2 separate regions of the Homo sapiens genome follow, and region 2 is linked to region 1. Evidence: promoter capture Hi-C in 16 types of primary human blood cells and fetal thymus (Javierre and others, 2016). All regions are on one chromosome and are shown on one strand. The core of a region is centred on a gene start or on the middle of the fragment in contact, and the rest is flanking DNA. Distances in the headings are between cores, read along the strand shown. Region 1 holds the start of GPR32 (G protein-coupled receptor 32). Region 2 overlaps SHANK1 (SH3 and multiple ankyrin repeat domains 1).

Evidence for each region. Contacts are between HindIII fragments. The CHiCAGO score rates a contact against its expected background, and 5 or more counts as called.
Region 2: a contact is called between a fragment that was not itself captured here and the fragment with the promoter of GPR32 in region 1, in 4 of 17 cell types (megakaryocytes, endothelial precursors, erythroblasts and 1 more). The highest score is 7.9, in megakaryocytes.

Annotation. Positions count from the first base shown.
Region 1 is chr19:50,768,772-50,772,090 of GRCh38, reverse strand. It overlaps GPR32 (G protein-coupled receptor 32), which reads right to left and starts at 1,627. Exons shown (of 1, transcript NM_001506.2): 1 at 359-1,627. The coding sequence starts at 1,490. The coding sequence ends at 420. The HindIII fragment of the contact is 17,473 bases long and covers 1-3,319 here.
Region 2 is chr19:50,696,859-50,700,177 of GRCh38, reverse strand. SHANK1 (SH3 and multiple ankyrin repeat domains 1) reads left to right here. Exons shown (of 24, transcript NM_016148.5): 13 at 2,222-2,335; 14 at 2,514-2,589; 15 at 3,056-3,082. Among named protein-coding and RNA genes, the nearest start is that of SHANK1, 21 kb to the left of the region's middle. The HindIII fragment of the contact is 2,483 bases long and covers 575-3,057 here.

The sequences.
Region 1 (3,319 bases), core at 378-2,877:
CAAGGTCAGGAGATTGAGACCATCCTGGCCAACGTGGTTAAACCCCGTCTCTACTAAAAAATATACAAAAATTATCTGGGCGTGGTGGCACGTGCCTGTAATCCCAGCTACTCGGGAGGCTGAGGCAGAATTGCTTGAACCAGAAAGTCAGAGGTTGCAGTGAGCCGAGATCGCGCCACTGCAGTCCAGCCTGGTGACAGAGCAAGACTCTATCTCAAAAAAAAAAGGGGGGGGGGGCGGGGAAGAATGGACACTGGGGAGTAAGTAGCTGTCTCTACCACAGAGCTTTAGATGAGGGGTTGCTGGAAGACTTCCTGAAAGAAGAGGCAGGATTTGGCAGGGTTTTAGAAGCCAGTCAAGGTAAGAGGCCACAAGCAAACTAAGAAGGACGGCTTCCAGCTTCCAGCTGAAGTCTTCCATCATTCCCGGGGGGCGTTGCCACGGGGACAGGATGACAGAAACTCCTCCTCTCCAAACGCCCTCGCCAGGGCAGAAGTCAAAGACTGGAAAAACTTTTCTTGGAAATCTCTGCCAACGAAGACGTAGAGGAAGGGGTTGAGGCTGCTGTTGACACAGCCCAAGGCAAAGCTAGCCTGGAGGATGAGCAGCATCCGGGGGTGGTAGATTTCCTTGAGCATCACCCGTCGCCACAGATGGACCAACAGCACCACGTTAAACGGGGACCAGAAGATAAAGAAAGCGCTCACCAGCACCAGCAGCAGCCTCTTGGGCCGGTTGGCATGGACCCAGCCCTCCCGCAAGAGCTTGGCCCGGATGAGGTGGGCGCAGGTGCCTATGATTGCTAAGGGCCCCAGGAAGCCCAGCAGGAAGTGGCCAATGGTCCCTATAATGTGTCCCTCCACGACCCCTTCAATCCAAATCTGGGCAGTCTCATTGTCAGAGTTGAACGCCAAGTAGCAGTGCGTACAGCCATTCCATTTTCTGGTTGTCCGGAATTTCAGGTGCGCAGAGCACAAGGCGGCGGCCAGGAGCCACACCCCAAAGGCCAGCCAGCTCGCCCGCTGCACAGTGCGGTGGTTCAGGGCCCAGACGGGGTAGAGGACAGAGATGCAACGGTCCACAGAGATGAAGACAAGGAGGCAGTTACTGGCAAAGTAGCTGAGGAACACAAAGGTGATGTAGAGTTTGCAGGCCCACTCTCCGAGGAGCCACTGCCTGGAGACAATATAGTACATGGCAATGGGCAGAGACAGTGAGAGCATGAAATCGGCAAGGGCCAGGTGGAAGAAGCAGACGGTGGAGACCGTGCGTGCCATACGGAAGACAGTCATCCACAGCACCAGCCCATTGCCCAGCACTCCGACGACAATGGACGCAGACAGGATAACCACAGTCAGTGGGCGGAGGGACCCCACCTCCTCAGACAGGCATCCGGAAGAGTTCATCTTCCTGGAACAAGAGCGATCACGTGTCAGGACCCCAGGTTGCCTGTCACTGCAGCCTCTGGTCCCCTCCGAGACCCCATTCATGATTTCTCCATTCCATAATTTTTATGGAATGCTTATTATTATTATTCTTTTAGAGACAGCGTCATGCTCTGTCACCCAGGCTGGAGTGCAAAGGTACAATCACAGATCACTGCAGCCTCCACCTCCTAGGCTCAAGAGATCCTCCCCCCTCAGCCTCCTGGAGTAGCTGGGACTACAGGCACTTACCACCATGCCTGGCTAATTTTTTTACCTTTTTTTTTTTTTTTTTTTTTTGACACAGAGTCTTGCTCTCTCTGTCACCCAGGCTGTAGTGCAATGGTATGATCTCGGCTCACTGCAACCTCCACCTCCAAGGTTCAAGCAATTTTCCTGCCTCAGCCTCCCAAGTAGCTGGAACTACAGGCACATGCCACCACACCTGGCTAATTTTTCTGTTTTTAGTAGAGACAGGGTTTTACCATGTTGGCCAGGCTGGTCTTGAACTACTGACCTCGTGACCCGTCCACCAGCCTCCCAAAGTGCTGGGATTATAGGTGTGAGCCACTCTGCCAGGCCTTAAATTCTTTTTTGTAGAGATGGGGTTTTGCTGTGTTGCCCAGGCTGGTCTTGAACTCCTGGCTTCAAGTGATCCTCCCACCTCAGCCTCCCAAAGTGCTGGGATTACAAGTGTGAGCCATTGAGCCCAGCCTGAATGCTTTTTATGACACAATAATATTGTTCTTTTTTTTTTTTTTTTTTTGAGACAGAGTCTCCTTATGTCACCCAGGCTGCAGTGCAATGGCACGATCTCGGCTCACTGGACACTATAATATTGTTCTAAGTACTGGACATAACTCGTGTAACAAAACAAGCCCTCATGGAACTTACATCCCAGTGAGAGATGTCAGGTGTAATACATATAATAAATTTACTTCATGATATACTGCTTTAGAAGACTACAAGTGTTATGGAAAAATAATAAATGAAATGGAGGGGCCAGGTGTGGTGGCTCATGCTTGTAATCACAACACTTTGGGAGGCTGAGGCAGAAGGATTGCTTGAAGCCAGGAGTTCCAAACCAAGGTGGGCAACATAGTGAGACCGTCTCTACAAAAAATAAATAATTACAAGTTTTTGTGGCCATGCACAGTGGCTCACGCCTGTAATCCCAGCACTTTGGGAGGCTGAGGTAGGCGGATCACCTGAGGTCAGGAGTTCGAGATCAGCCTGCCCAGCATGGCGAAACCCCGTCTCTACTAAAAATACAAAAAACATTAGCTGGGTGTGGTGGCAGCCACCTGTAATCCCAGCTACTCATGAGGCTGAAGAATCACTTAAACTTGGGAGGCGGAGGTTGCAGTGAATCAAGATCGCGCCACTGCACTCCAGCCTGGGTAACGAGAGCGAAACTCCGTCTCAAAAAAATAAAAATAAAATAAAATTTAAAAATTAGCCGTGAGATGGGCGTAGTGGCTCATTCCTGTAATCCCAGCACTTTGGGAGGCTGAGGCTGGTGGATCACTTAAGTTCAGGAGTTCGAGACCAGCCTGGCCAACATGGCAAAAGCCTGTCTCTACTAAAAATACAAAAATTAGCCAGGCTTGGTGGTGCGTGCCTGTAATCCCAGCTACTCTGAAGGCTGAGGCAGGAGAGTCCCTTGAACCTGGGAGGCAGGGGCTGCAGTGAGCCAAGATCGTGCCACTTCATTCCAGCCCAGGCAACAGAGCAAGACTCTGTCTCAAAAAAAAAAAAAAAAAAAATTAGTCAGGTATGGTGGCACGTGCCTGTAGTCCCAGCAAATTGGGAGACTGAGACACGAGGGTCACTTGAGCCCTGGAATTCGAGGCTGCAATGAGCCATGGTCACGCCATTTCACTTCAGCCTGGGTG
Region 2 (3,319 bases), core at 567-3,066, 72 kb after region 1:
CCCTCCAATCTTCCAGTGCCCGAGCCTTCCAACCCGAGCCTTCCAACCCTCCAATGCCCCGAGCCCTCCAATCCCCCAATGCCCCGATCCCTCCAATCCTCCAATGCCCTGAGCCTTCCAACCCTCCAATGCCCCGAGCCCTCCAATCCTCCAATGCCCCGAGCCTTCCAACCCTCCAATGCCCCGATCCCTCCAATCCTCCAATGCCCCGAGCCCTCCAATCCTCCAATGCCCCGAGCCCTCCAATCCTCCAATGCCCCGAGCCCTCCAATCCTCCAATGCCCCGAGCCCTCCAATCCTCCAATGCCCCGAGCCCTCCAATCCTCCAATGCCCCAAACCCTCTAATCCTCTAATGCCCCAATCCCTCCAATCTCCCAAAGCCCCAAGCCCTCCATTCCCCCAATGGCCCAAGCCATCCAATCCTCCCAGTGCCCAAGCCTTCCAGTTCCCCAGTGCTACCAACCCCTCCATTCCTCCAATGCCCCAAGCCTTCCAATCCCCCAATGCCCTGAGCCCTCCAATTCTCCAGTCCTCCGATATACCAACCCCTCCATTCCTCCAATGTCCCAAGCTTTCTTGTACACCAAACTCTTCAAACATGCTGGTCCTTCTGCCTGGAACTCTTCCATGCTCTCTTTGCCTCCCCAGCTCCTAGGATCCTTCAGGTCTCAACCTATGTGTCACACCTCAGGGACACCTCCCTGGACCCCTTTGCCATTATAAGTTATATACTCCCATCTGGCTTCTCTCCAAACACCCTCTTATTTTCCCTTGAGCTCTGACCCCAACTTCCAATCATACAGTCACTTGTATAGTTATGCCTCTATTGGCCACTGCTCTGGAAGCTCCTCAAAGGAAGGAACAACATTGATTATATTCAACAGTGTCTACCCTGGTACCTGACTCATGACTGGCACTAACTAAATATTTTTACAGTGAACAAATGATTGATTACAAGACCACCAAGCCAGGCATGGCAGTACCAGCCAAGAACCCAGTCCCCTTGACAACCCATCTCCTGCTCTCTTCCATGACTTTCAGCTTCCCCTCATTTGGTCTCCCCAGATGCTCTCAAGGGAGGCAGTTTGTGGAGGGGAATACATCTGATGGCCCCAACTCAACCCCTAGCATAGCTGGAGCCATCTCCAGGCAAGGGTTTTCTCCACATTCGCTTCAGCTTCTTTGTCTATAAAATGGAAAAACAGTTGTTACCTACCTGGGTAGGCACAAGGGTTGAACGAGGAAGGAAACTATGTGAAGGGCTGAATGGGGGCAGAGTCATGAAAAATGCCGGAGAAATGGAAGACCATGTGTTTGCCACTGGTGCCCTTGTCATGCACTGAAGCCGTTGCATGGAGAGGTAGCGCACATGAGTGACTGAAAGTATGCCCTCTGGAAGCAGACTGAGCTGTGTTCAAATCCAGATCTGTCAGTTACTAGCCTTGTAACCTTCAGCAAATGATCTTGGCTCTCCAAGCCTCAGTGTTCCTATCAGTAAAAGGGGGATAATGAAAGTGGCCCCTCTTAGGGTTCTGGCCCAGGTGAGAGTTGGATACGCATTAGCTGTTCTTGTCATATATCTCTGTTTTTCAGCAGCAGGCATGTAACAGGCAGTCTGTGATGTTTGCTAAATGGGGAAGCGGTGGGGCCTGGGAGGGTGGGCAGGGGGAAGCCGCTTCCATTAGGGGAGAGGGAGAGAAGGAAAGAGGTGATGCTAATCTCTTTTCCCTTCTAGAGCCAGGAGAGGCCGAGAGAGACAGAGACAGGGGTCTGGGGACAAAGGACTAAAGATTAAGTGGCAAGGAGACTTTGGGAGGTGGCAGGGACAGTGATGGGAGGGTGAGGTAGAACTTGTCGCCCCATCCGTGATCTAAGTCCACAGAGCCTAGGAGGGTGAAGGGGAATTACACAACTGAGCTGTGACCAGTTACCAGGGGAGACAAGGACCAATTGTGGACCTGCCTCTAACCTAGGAAGACCATGTTATGGAACAGTCGTCTTCCCCAATGCCTGTCATCCTTATTGGATCCAGAAACTAGAATGCAAGAGTGATATGATATGGGTCTCCCCCAAGCTCCTCGCCCCTTCCTCAGATGTTTATTAAGGATGGCCTTGGGCCAGGAGCTGGTAACTGTGGGAATGCTCTAAGTTGAGTGTGTTGGCAGTTGAGGGGCAGCACAGAAACACAGAAATGTCTCTATGTCCCCGTTCCCCATCCAGTACTTAGCATCGGGGAAGGAGGCTTCTGGGAAGGCCAGGTCAAAGGTCGTGTTGGCTGGTTCCCCTCTGACTGCCTGGAAGAAGTGGCGAATCGCTCTCAGGAGAGCAAGCAAGGTAATGCGGAACCCCCAGCAGTGTTCAATGGACCCTAGGATTCCCACGTCCACTCCTTTCCCTTCCTAATGGGGGTGGGGTACTGGGAGGTAGATGGGAAGACTTGGGCCAGGAGCTCTAGGGCTGGGATTGTGGTTTCCAAAACAAGAGTCCAAGGTTGTCTGTTGTCACCCTGCAGAAAGCCGCAGTGACAAGGCAAAGAGACTCTTCCGGCATTATACCGTGGGCTCCTACGACAGCTTTGATGCCCCAAGGTAAATGTCCTTACACCCTCGGGCAACCCCCCTCACCCCAAGTTCCCTTCACAATGTACACCTTTAAATATTTCCATCACCTCTAAGCCCCCTTTCTAATCTGTTCCTTCTCAAGTTTGATCCAGGGGTGGGATAAGCCAGAATTAGCTTCAGACAGTACAGCCCAACCCCAAACCATCTTCGGCAGCCACTAAGACTGCCCAGCTCTGGGGTAGCCAGAGACAACGGGGTGGTCAGGGCAGGGTGGGGATGCCTGGGGGGGCCGGGGCGCTCTTATGTCTGGCTGGCTGGAGGCCCTTGTCTCCTTCATGTGCCCCATCTCTGTGCAGTCATGTGCAGTGGGAATGTGTGTGTCCCATGCACCGGTGTGGGGAGGGTGCAGTCAGGGCTGGGTGGGATTGGGGTGAGGAGATGGGTGCACTGACACCTTTCCCCTCCCTGGCTGCTGGCTGACTTGCTTCGGAAGCTTAATGGATGGGATTGGCCCAGGGAGGTGAGAGGCGAGGGGCAGGGAGGGGATGGGGTCAGGAGGGGAAGGACGGGGTGCCTGGGGGGCGTGTGAACGTGTGTGCACGACCAGAGCTGAGGTTTCTTGGTGTGTGAACGTGTGTCTCTGTAGGTGTGCATGACACGCATCTGTGTGCATGTGTGGCCTGGATGTACCTGTACCTATGCCCGGGGCTGGAGGGTCTGCCCTGCTCTGTATATACTGGTGCCTTTGTGGCTATGA